Linked DNA regions of Homo sapiens: region 2 is linked to region 1. The links are contacts of gene promoters, found by promoter capture Hi-C in blood cells and fetal thymus (Javierre and others, 2016). All regions are on one chromosome and are shown on one strand. The core of a region is centred on a gene start or on the middle of the fragment in contact, and the rest is flanking DNA. Distances in the headings are between cores, read along the strand shown. Region 1 holds the start of YAP1 (Yes1 associated transcriptional regulator). Region 2 overlaps MMP20 (matrix metallopeptidase 20).

Region 1 (4,933 bases), core at 1,756-4,255:
GAGACAGAAACACCCAAACCATAACAGAAATGAAAAGGGAAGGGAGTGATAGGTTGCAGAAAAGGGAGAGGTTAAGGATAAATGAGATGTGAGTAATGAAATAAGAGAACCAGATGATTATTAAGAATATGGTATACCATAGTCTGACTTCACTACTGGAGTATTTCTGGATGATGCAGAGTACAGACGAAGGGGCAGGTGGCTAAAGTGAAGTAGAGATGAGGGTCCATTTTAGTTGACAGGTCAACTAATTGGGATACGCATGTTTTGAGATAGTGATCTACCTGGACATTGAAAATGATCCAGGATAAGGGTGCATCTTTATACGAAGAAGGTGACTCCCTATTTTAAGATGCTGCCAACAGATAATTGGTCCACAAAATGGGCAGAAGAGGAAGGGAGTAGACAAAGGACTGAATATGTTATCTTTATCCCCTACTACACCGTGGTTGAAATTGTATAAACGAGGAATAGTAAATTACAAAATCTTGGTTGATGATACAGAAGTGCTTACAGAACATAGTCACTCCAAAGACCCTTTCACTCCACTTATCAAAGTAATTTTGTCCTCAGTTTAATGGCAGGTGAAACAATATTGAACAAAGCAGCCTCTGCTGTATCTGAAGCCCTTTAGTTAGTGTTCATAGCAGTAAATGCTCTAGTAAAGGGACAGCTTCTATTCCAATCCCAGGTTTTCAATCACTTTGGTTCTTTTTTTGAGACAGAGTCTCGCTGTGTTGCCCAGGCTGGAGTGCAGTGGTGTGATCTCAGCTCACTGCAACCTCCACCTCCTGGGTTCAAGTGATTCTCATGCCTCAGCCACCTGAGTAGCTGGGACTACAGGAACATGCCACCACACCTGGCTAATTTTTATGTATTTTTTTTTTTGTAGAGACAGGGTATCACCATTTTGGCCAGACTGGTCTCGAACTTCTGACCTCAGGTGATTCCCCTGCCTTGGCCTCCCAAAGTGCTGGGACTACAGGCATGAACCACCGCACCCGGCCCACTTTGGTTCCTAAAGTTTTCTTTCAGGTAAAGTTTTTAATGCATAGTTTCTGCCCAAAGGTTTTGTTTGTGTGGACTGATTATTGGATAAGAGAGGAAGGGACTACCAACAGGGTCCCTGAGGCTGTGCTTAGAAAGAGAGGGCTGCTGCAAGGAGAGGCTATGTTACTACCTGTGAAATAATCTGTGAACATGGGACAACAATGACAACTGACATTGATGTGGAACTCACTGCACGTCCCAAACTGGGCTAAGTACTTTATATCCATTGACTCATTTAATGCCCCAACAACTATGAGGTAGGTGTTATTACCCCTGATGCTAATATTAAAGAACAGGAAATAAATAACTTGTCCAAAACCTCACAGCTAGTAAATGGCAGAACTGGGACCTGAACTCAAAACTCTGTAACTCCAGAACCTGCAAGTCTGTCGTTAAATGCACTTGACATTTAGGAGTGGGAACAAATCCAAGAACTAGTCATGGGTGTCATTTACTCTGATCCTTTTTTTCAGACAGGAAACTGGGGGTTCAGAGTAGTTGATTGGAATCTTCTGTTAGAATTTTGAGTGTCTGAGGCCTGCTCCTTTGGCCGAGCCCTACCACACCAAGTGATACAGATCCTTCAGAATTCTCCTGGGCATGTTCTGGCTGAAGGAAGAAATTACCTTTTTGCTCACGGACTTTTTCCTTGCTTAATCCTACTTATACCTTTGTTTCACTAGCATTGTAGACAAAATCATTAAAACAAGAAAGCCAGATTTCCTTAGAATGGGCTTGTGCATTTAAAATTAGACTGATGTTGCACAATCCTATGAATATATTTAAAAAAACAGTGAATTGCTTAAATATACTAATATGTACAACTATTGCAAAAACTGTATGGTATATAAATTATATCTCAACAAGGATGCTTTAAAAAAAAAAAACCCAGAGTGTATGACTTAAAAAACATTTCTATTGTTTTTGAGTGGCTTCCAGAAGGGCTCCTTGTACATCAGGTGCCTGGGATGACCTCCTTGCCCATTCATTTCTTATTCAGTCCACATTAACGGAGTCCACCGTTGGGCCAGGCACAGGGATAGCAGGGGTAGGGACCCAGCTCCTTGAGGATGAAAGACAGGTACAGAGGCATGAATGCTTGTACCTGAAGACGCACTAATTTTTTGGGTTGCGGCTTCCAGTGACTATTGCAAATTCGAGTACTAAAAAAGTTGATGTGATTTCACTATTTGGAAAATGTAGTGTTTTTGTTTCTTTTAATAAGTTACACTGAGTTACAGACCTGGTCTCAAAGCTTCAATTACAGTAACCGTTTACCCCTCTCAAGTGAGTTTTTGCAGACTAACAGATAAGTGAAACAATTACAAAATAAAGTTAATGCTGAAAACAATGGATCTTTATTAACATCAATGCCGGCTCACGGTATCTATTTTAACTCCAATCTATCCTCGCGGCTTTAAGCTCGCACAGGCGCTCCGCTCGGTCAAGCCGGGGTAACGCGAGGAGGAGGAGGTGGGTTCGCACATCCTCTCTCCACTTCTTTCGGCCTTGGCCCTTTCGCAGGTCCAGGCGAACTGGAAGCGCCTTTCCCGAGCACGGGCGGGGAAAAGGGGCCGAGCGGAGCGGAAGAACTTCCTGCAGCCAAGGGCGCCCGCGTTCTCCGCAGACACCACAGTTCGGACCCGGATTGGACCCATCGTTTGCGGTTCGCGGGGCAGAATACGGGGCACGCTTCGGGCCCCTGCCCGGCTGAGCGCGGGCGAAGGGCGGACCGGGCCAGGGCGAGCGGGTCACGTGCGGCCGGGAGAGGCGCCGCGGGCCGGGAGTGTGCAGGAATGTAGCAACTTGCAGCGAAAAGTTTCCCTGCGCTGCCGGCCGGGCCGCGGTGCGGGCGGGCGCGCAGAGGAAGGAAGAGCCGAGAGGAGGCGGGGCCGCGGCGGCGCGGGCGGGCGCTTCTCCTAACTTTAGTTTTGGCGTTTGAGGCGAGTTTCTGTCTCAGTCGGGCGCAGCCGCCGCCAGGGAAAAGAAAGGGAGGAAGGAAGGAACAAGAAAAGGAAATAAAGAGAAAGGGGAGGCGGGGAAAGGCAACGAGCTGTCCGGCCTCCGTCAAGGGAGTTGGAGGGAAAAAGTTCTCAGGCGCCGCAGGTCCGAGTGCCTCGCAGCCCCTCCCGAGGCGCAGCCGCCAGACCAGTGGAGCCGGGGCGCAGGGCGGGGGCGGAGGCGCCGGGGCGGGGGATGCGGGGCCGCGGCGCAGCCCCCCGGCCCTGAGAGCGAGGACAGCGCCGCCCGGCCCGCAGCCGTCGCCGCTTCTCCACCTCGGCCCGTGGAGCCGGGGCGTCCGGGCGTAGCCCTCGCTCGCCTGGGTCAGGGGGTGCGCGTCGGGGGAGGCAGAAGCCATGGATCCCGGGCAGCAGCCGCCGCCTCAACCGGCCCCCCAGGGCCAAGGGCAGCCGCCTTCGCAGCCCCCGCAGGGGCAGGGCCCGCCGTCCGGACCCGGGCAACCGGCACCCGCGGCGACCCAGGCGGCGCCGCAGGCACCCCCCGCCGGGCATCAGATCGTGCACGTCCGCGGGGACTCGGAGACCGACCTGGAGGCGCTCTTCAACGCCGTCATGAACCCCAAGACGGCCAACGTGCCCCAGACCGTGCCCATGAGGCTCCGGAAGCTGCCCGACTCCTTCTTCAAGCCGCCGGAGCCCAAATCCCACTCCCGACAGGTAACCTCGTTGCCCCTCTCCCCGTTTCCCCGTCGGGCGGGCCTCAGACCGGGGGGGCGCTCGGGAGCCGCGGCCGCCAGCTCTGGTCAGGGGAGGGGGGTTGCGGGAACTCTAGCTGGGGTGGGGGTCCCGAGGCGAAGTGGAACTGGAGTCGTCCACTCCGCCGCGGTGACCAGCTCCCCACTCCTCCCAGAGTCCGGGGCTGAGATTTGTTTTTCCCTTCTGAGTTTCTCTCTGCGGTTGCAGCCCCGGGGGGCGTGCTTTCCCTCCTTCTTCCTTTCTTTCTTCCCGGGGTTCCCGAGAGGTTGGCGGGAGTGGAGGAGGGGTGGGGAGGAAGGAAGGGGGTGGGGAAAAGTCGGGCCTGGGCCGCGGTGGGCTTGCACAATGCGCGCGCCTCCGCGCGCTCCGCACCTTCGCTCCCGCCGGGCCGGGCTGGGAAAGGGGGAGGGGGGCCTCTGGCATTTGTGTGTGGGTGTGTTGCCAGCGGCGGCCGAGTTTGTGAAGTTGAGCCCTGGGCCCCTTTCCTTTGCGGCCTCTCGGTCCACTTCAGTCTCCTGGGGGAGTCAAATAATTGTTCTCTTGTTTTCCAGTGTTGATTAGAGGTGGGGGTAGAACCGGTCCATTTAGTTTTTTGCTCTTTCTTTCCTTCCCCCCTCCCGTTTCCCCTCCCCCTCCCGTAAGCATTTATTTTCCTCGCGGCTCAGGCGATTTCGGAATACAGGTTTCGGGCTTCCCCTGCCCAGACTTTCCTGGAAGTTGTTTATGGAGTTCTTTCACCCCTGCTCTTCCCTTGTGTGTTGGAACTTGGGCCGGCTTGCTCTTATCAAACTTAGTAGGTCGCGTGTTGGTTTCCCAGTTGTAGACTATTATTTACAGTCGGCTGAAACGCTTTTGAATTAGCCACATCTGTACGTTGCGCAGGAACTGAGTTGCGCTTTACAGTACCGAGGTTTTAACACAAGCCTTTGATAATACACTGCAGGTTGACTCATAGGCCAAGTCCTGCCTAGTTCAACTGTGATTAAAAGTTAATGTTTGGGAAGCGATGACTAATTCTAGGATCGCCATTGCTTTTTAATTCTTATTGCGGATATGAACATGGCTGCTATTCCACATACACAATGTTCGATTATTGTGCCAACTTGATTCAGCATAGAAGTGAAACTGTTTATAATGAGTGTTAACATTCCAATAGGTCCCAGTGG
Region 2 (4,933 bases), core at 1,239-3,738, 500 kb after region 1:
TAGGATATCCTTGGCTAATATAGAAGGGGTTATATAAGTGATAAACACTATCATGGGAATGGATGAGGTCATGTGGCTAACGGGAAAGCAAAATCTGCAAGAATTTGTCCCCTAGTGGGGCAAAGTCATAATGAAAGTTTGTTACAGTGAATCTACTCTACAGCTGTGTCTGATGATGACAAGACATGCTAAGAACTCCTTTGGTTCTATTTTCTGGCCAGATGAAGATCATGGCTTTGCCATGGTCTTGGCCTTGGCCCATCACAGCACTGTGCGAAGGAGGAGTGTGTGATCACTCGAATTAAAGATGTAGAAGGAACAGTATTGGGACAACTCTCCTTTGAATTAGTAGATGGAATCCAAGTACCACAATACCTCCATTTTCAAAAGATATCATAATATCCGCTTCTCCTGAGTTTATTCTGACAAAGCTCAGAGGGACGGCGCTACTCCAGGCCTGCAAGGCCATCTCCACTGCTTTGTCCACCTCGACAGAACTCATGGAAGGTGTGTATTTAGATATTCTGTGAAAACGGAAGGAACATGTTTTCTTTTCAGTAACTGCTCCGAAGAAGGCAAGAATTATATGTTGTATTCAAAAAATGTTAAATGTAAATCTACAATTTAGATTTTTCTCTGAAATAATAATTCTTATTTTGCTTTATTATATGTTAAATTTCTGCATATGAAACAACAAGACAAATGAAAGGGAGAGATGAGAGACAGTTGGGATAATCCGGTACTGAAACCATTTAGCTTTCATTGTTATTATACTACCACCGACTTAAAAGAATAAAATTTGTGGCCGGGCGCAGTGGCTCACGCCTGTAATCCCAGCACTTTGGAAGGCTGAGGTGGGAGGATCACTTGAGGTCAAGAGTTCGAGATCAGCCTAGCCAAGATGGTGAAACCCCATCTCTACTAAAAATACAAAAATTAGCTGGGCGTGGTGGTGCAAACCTGTAGTCCCAGTTACTTGGGAGGCTGAGGCAGAAGAATCATTTGAACCTGGGAAGTGGAGGTTGCAGTGAGCCAAGATCGGGCGACTGCACTCCAGCCTGGGTGACACAGTGAGACTTCACTCAAAAATAATTAAATAAATAAATAAGATAAATAAAACTTGTGAAATGTTACAGGTAGTAAGTAGTCAATTTTTCTTAAAGTCGTTTTCATTGAGAGAGGACCTCTTTTTCCCCAAAGGGACTGGATGTTTTCAATTATAAAAAATAGAAATGTGGAGTTTTGAAGTTTTGCTAATTCTTATTCAAAGCTCCTCAGGATTTCCCCAGGGCTATTGGGGAAGGTTTTTTTTTCCCTCAGAATAATGCATTCTTTTCTTTTTTCTTTTTCTTTTCTTTCTTTTTTTTTTTTTTTGAGATGGAGTTTTGCTCTTGTCGCCCAGGCTGGAGTGCAATGGCATGATCTCTGCTCACTGCAACCACTGCCTCCCAGGTTCAATTGATTCTCCTGCCTCAGCCTCCTGAGTAGCTGGGATTATAGGTGCCCGCCACCACGCCGGGCTAATTTTTATATTTTTGGTGGAGACGGGGTTTCACCATGTTGGCCAGGCTGGTCTTGAACTGCTGACCTCAGGTGATCCGCCCTCCTCAGCCTCCCAAAGTGCTCGGATTACAGGCGTGAGCCACTGCCCCCAGCCCAAAATAATACATTCTTAAAGAGGAAGGGCTAGCTTTAAAAACGGAGGCTCACTGGAATTGAAAAAAGGGTGAGCCTTTCAGCAATTACTGGTGTGACGATGACACCTGAAGGCAGAAAAATGTAGTGCTTTTTGGACTGTGGGTGGAGTCAGAGTTGGTGATTGTTAGAACTTTCTGCTCTGAAGCCCAGGGTCTGGGGATTTCTGGCAGCACACAAAGGAAAGGCAGGGAGGGCAACTTCTACCCGAGACCTTGGGCTGGGCTGGAATATGATGCAAAGTGAGAAGCTGTGTCTGTGAGAGCCAACCCCATGAGCAGGGACCGGCCCTGCTTTCTCTCTCTCTCTCTAGCTCCTAGTTTAGTGCCTTGCACATAGCAGATGCTTAGCAATTGCTTGATAAATAAATGAATGAATTAAAGAATTAAAGCTAGCTGTTTTAGGGCCCACTCAGTGGCTCTCGAAGTTTAGGACCTGTGATAATTACCTAGGAAGCTTGTTAAAAATACAGGTATGATCCAGAAATCTGTGTTTTGAAAGGTATCTTAGGTTATTATAATGCAGATGGTGCAATTTCAATGAGAAACCAACAGCAGTAATCCTAGGGTCCCAAATGAAAGGACTGTGCCCACAGAAAGGATAGCAAATAGCTCAATTCAGGACTTGAGAGGGAAGGAACAAGGAGCTCTTTAACCCCAGGTTTGGGGCCAAAAGAAGAGAGCTATAGAATTGAAGGGGGATACCAGACAGACCCTTAAAGGGACTATTTAATGCTTTCAAAATATGCCAAGCCCACTGCATAATATGAGTCTGCAATTTATCACAACTAGGTGGACTTAGTACTTTGACATGCCCTCGCATTTTTGGTAAGTCAGCCATATCTTTGAGCTGACTTTGTGTGTTGGCCTGGAGAAGACAAGGAAGGAGAGAGGGATAGCACCAGAGAAGAAGAGAACATGGAAAAAGGGATCCCCGAATCAGGGTCTGGAGCTTGATAAAGCAATAGTAATACTAGCCAATATTCTTTGAAGTCACACTATGTGCTGTTGCTGTATGCACTTTTTAATGTGGCATTTATCTAATCCTCACTTCGACCCCTAAGAGGAAGATCATCATCATCATCTACATGTTATGATTAGTCAGGTTTGAGCCCAGTTCTGTCTGACTCCAAAGCTTATGCATATAAGCACTATGCTGTATTTTTTTTCCTTTTGTAATCCTCTGGGTTATGTTGTAAGAAGTTATTCTGAAAGTCAGTAGCTACACAGGCAGAGTACTGTGATAGCCTCTAGTGTCCTTTTTCATGGGGAGGCGATGGTAGAGTTATTGGGGAGCAAGAGTGGATAGGCAATGTGTGTGTTGAGGGGTTTTTAAGACTGCCCAGCTTATCACAAGAATATTATACTTCCCTAAGCATCACATTATCTTGACCCAGGCTTCTTGTCTTTGTTGTACATAGTCATGGACTAAAATTCCAGAACACAGTTTACTTTAAGAAAACTATGAAAAGACTCTGTCGATGCGTACACATTTTTCTTGTCTTATTCTTACTATTTCAGAATCACTTTTGTGTTCAACTCCTATGAGGTTTTTCTCCCCCAATTGCTTTGTTTTTTTGTTCAGCCTGCCACCTTATGGATTTATTGGCTGATAGCAGGTAACAAGTGGCCTAGGGGATTCATGACTGTTCCCTGGATTCTGGCCCCTCCTTTGATCAAATGGACTCACTGGTGTGCTGGAACAGGTTAACAAGTGGCTCTACAAGGAGAAAAAAAAAAACCCACTTGATTTGCATGACTTGCTGATTTCTGTGTTGTAAATATTCTCACTATGGCTAATTCAAGCTACCAACTTACCATCACTGAATGCCAGGTTGTGAAGAGATGAGCATGAATGAACCACTCAGATTATACAGATGTACATAGCCTCATGAACAGAGAAAATAATAAAATGTAGTGAAATAAGAGGCAATATGTTATTACCTTTATTTTTAATATAATTTAATATAATTTATTATATTAATGTAATTATTTAATATAATGTATTTAATATAATTTAATGTAATTTATTAAATAATTATACCTATTAAATAATATAACATATAATAATAAATAACGTATTTTATTTATTATTATAAAATAATGTTTTAATAATATATTATTAATAAATAGTATTTTATTTATTACTACAAAAATATATTTTAATAATAAATATAAATATGAAATAATATACTTATTTAATATAATTTATTTAATATAATATAATTTAATTTATTTAATGTAATGTAATATGATTTATTTAATAGTAAATTTACATAATTTAACAATGGCTGTCTTAGCAACCAGCTCACAAAATTCTTGGGAGCTTAACAAGTGGCTGCAAAATTCCTGACATTTTAAGGATTGGCTTCTGTGAGCTATTAGGCGGCAGCTCTACCATACCACTGCTTAGACTATTGCACGAGTCCAGCCTTTCCCCATCTCCAGTTATCATCTAGATGTGCTCATCCTAAAAGGGAAATCTGATCCTGGTCCTGGCCTGGCTCTCCACCGCCCTGGGGATAAAGTCCAAACTCCTTGACATCACGCTCTAGTTGCCCTTCAGGCTGCCCCTCCAGCTCATTTCCTGCCATTGCCCTTCCTGCACCCTCTGCTGCAGCCGCATGCACTAGGCACTTGTGGTGGGAATGCTGCCCATCAACATGCCAGTCTGTCCACTCTCTGCTGCTATATGCTTGGTCTGGTTTTCTCCTTAGAAAACTCCTTACATGTGCAAGGCCTGGGGCAGGACCACAAAGAGTGGAGTCCACTCTTCTTTTCTGACCTGCACCCATCTGTCATGCATGAGGCCCACGCAGGCAGGCACCATCCACCCCTACCTCAGGCTGAGGGGCAGGTACCATACATAGTTTGCCCTTGGTTGGACCAACCTGGGGAGGAAGTCTGCGCTGGCTCCCAGAATCAGGTCTGGCTGTGGGAGAGGGAATTCCAGACTCCGTACCCTGAGCACAGCAGGGAGGGACAGAGGTTCTGGTTGGGTGTGTCCCCTTGGTTTATAAGGGATGAAGCCAGAGGATTAGGGGAGGGAAGAAAGAGGGCAGGGAAGGAGTGAGGGGAGCTTGGGGCTAAGAGTGGAACTGCTTCTGCTTTGCCTTCGAATCAGGCTCAGATGTTACTGCTGGTCCCTGGGCCACTTGGTAGCTCTGTCCATGTGAACTGTGGTCCCACAGTTCACTGCTTAGAGCTATGCTTTTGCACTTTTCACACAGAGCTACAGC

Evidence for each region. Contacts are between HindIII fragments. The CHiCAGO score rates a contact against its expected background, and 5 or more counts as called.
Region 2: a fragment that was not itself captured here is called in contact with the fragment with the promoter of YAP1 in region 1 in 1 of 17 cell types (fetal thymus); the score reaches 6.2 in fetal thymus.

The regions. Positions count from the first base shown.
Region 1 is chr11:102,107,442-102,112,374 of GRCh38, forward strand. YAP1 (Yes1 associated transcriptional regulator) reads left to right here and starts at 3,006. Exons shown (of 9, transcript NM_001130145.3): 1 at 3,006-3,728. The coding sequence starts at 3,408. It overlaps YAP1-DT (YAP1 divergent transcript), which reads right to left and starts at 3,016. Exons shown (of 1, transcript NR_198976.1): 1 at 2,386-3,016. RefSeq lists silencers at 2,729-2,778, 2,789-2,918. The HindIII fragment of the contact is 4,853 bases long and covers 2,304-4,933 here.
Region 2 is chr11:102,611,380-102,616,312 of GRCh38, forward strand. It overlaps MMP20 (matrix metallopeptidase 20), which reads right to left. Exons shown (of 10, transcript NM_004771.4): 3 at 376-524. Among named protein-coding and RNA genes, the nearest start is that of MMP20, 11 kb to the right of the region's middle. RefSeq lists enhancers at 3,931-4,432, 4,433-4,932. The HindIII fragment of the contact is 678 bases long and covers 2,150-2,827 here.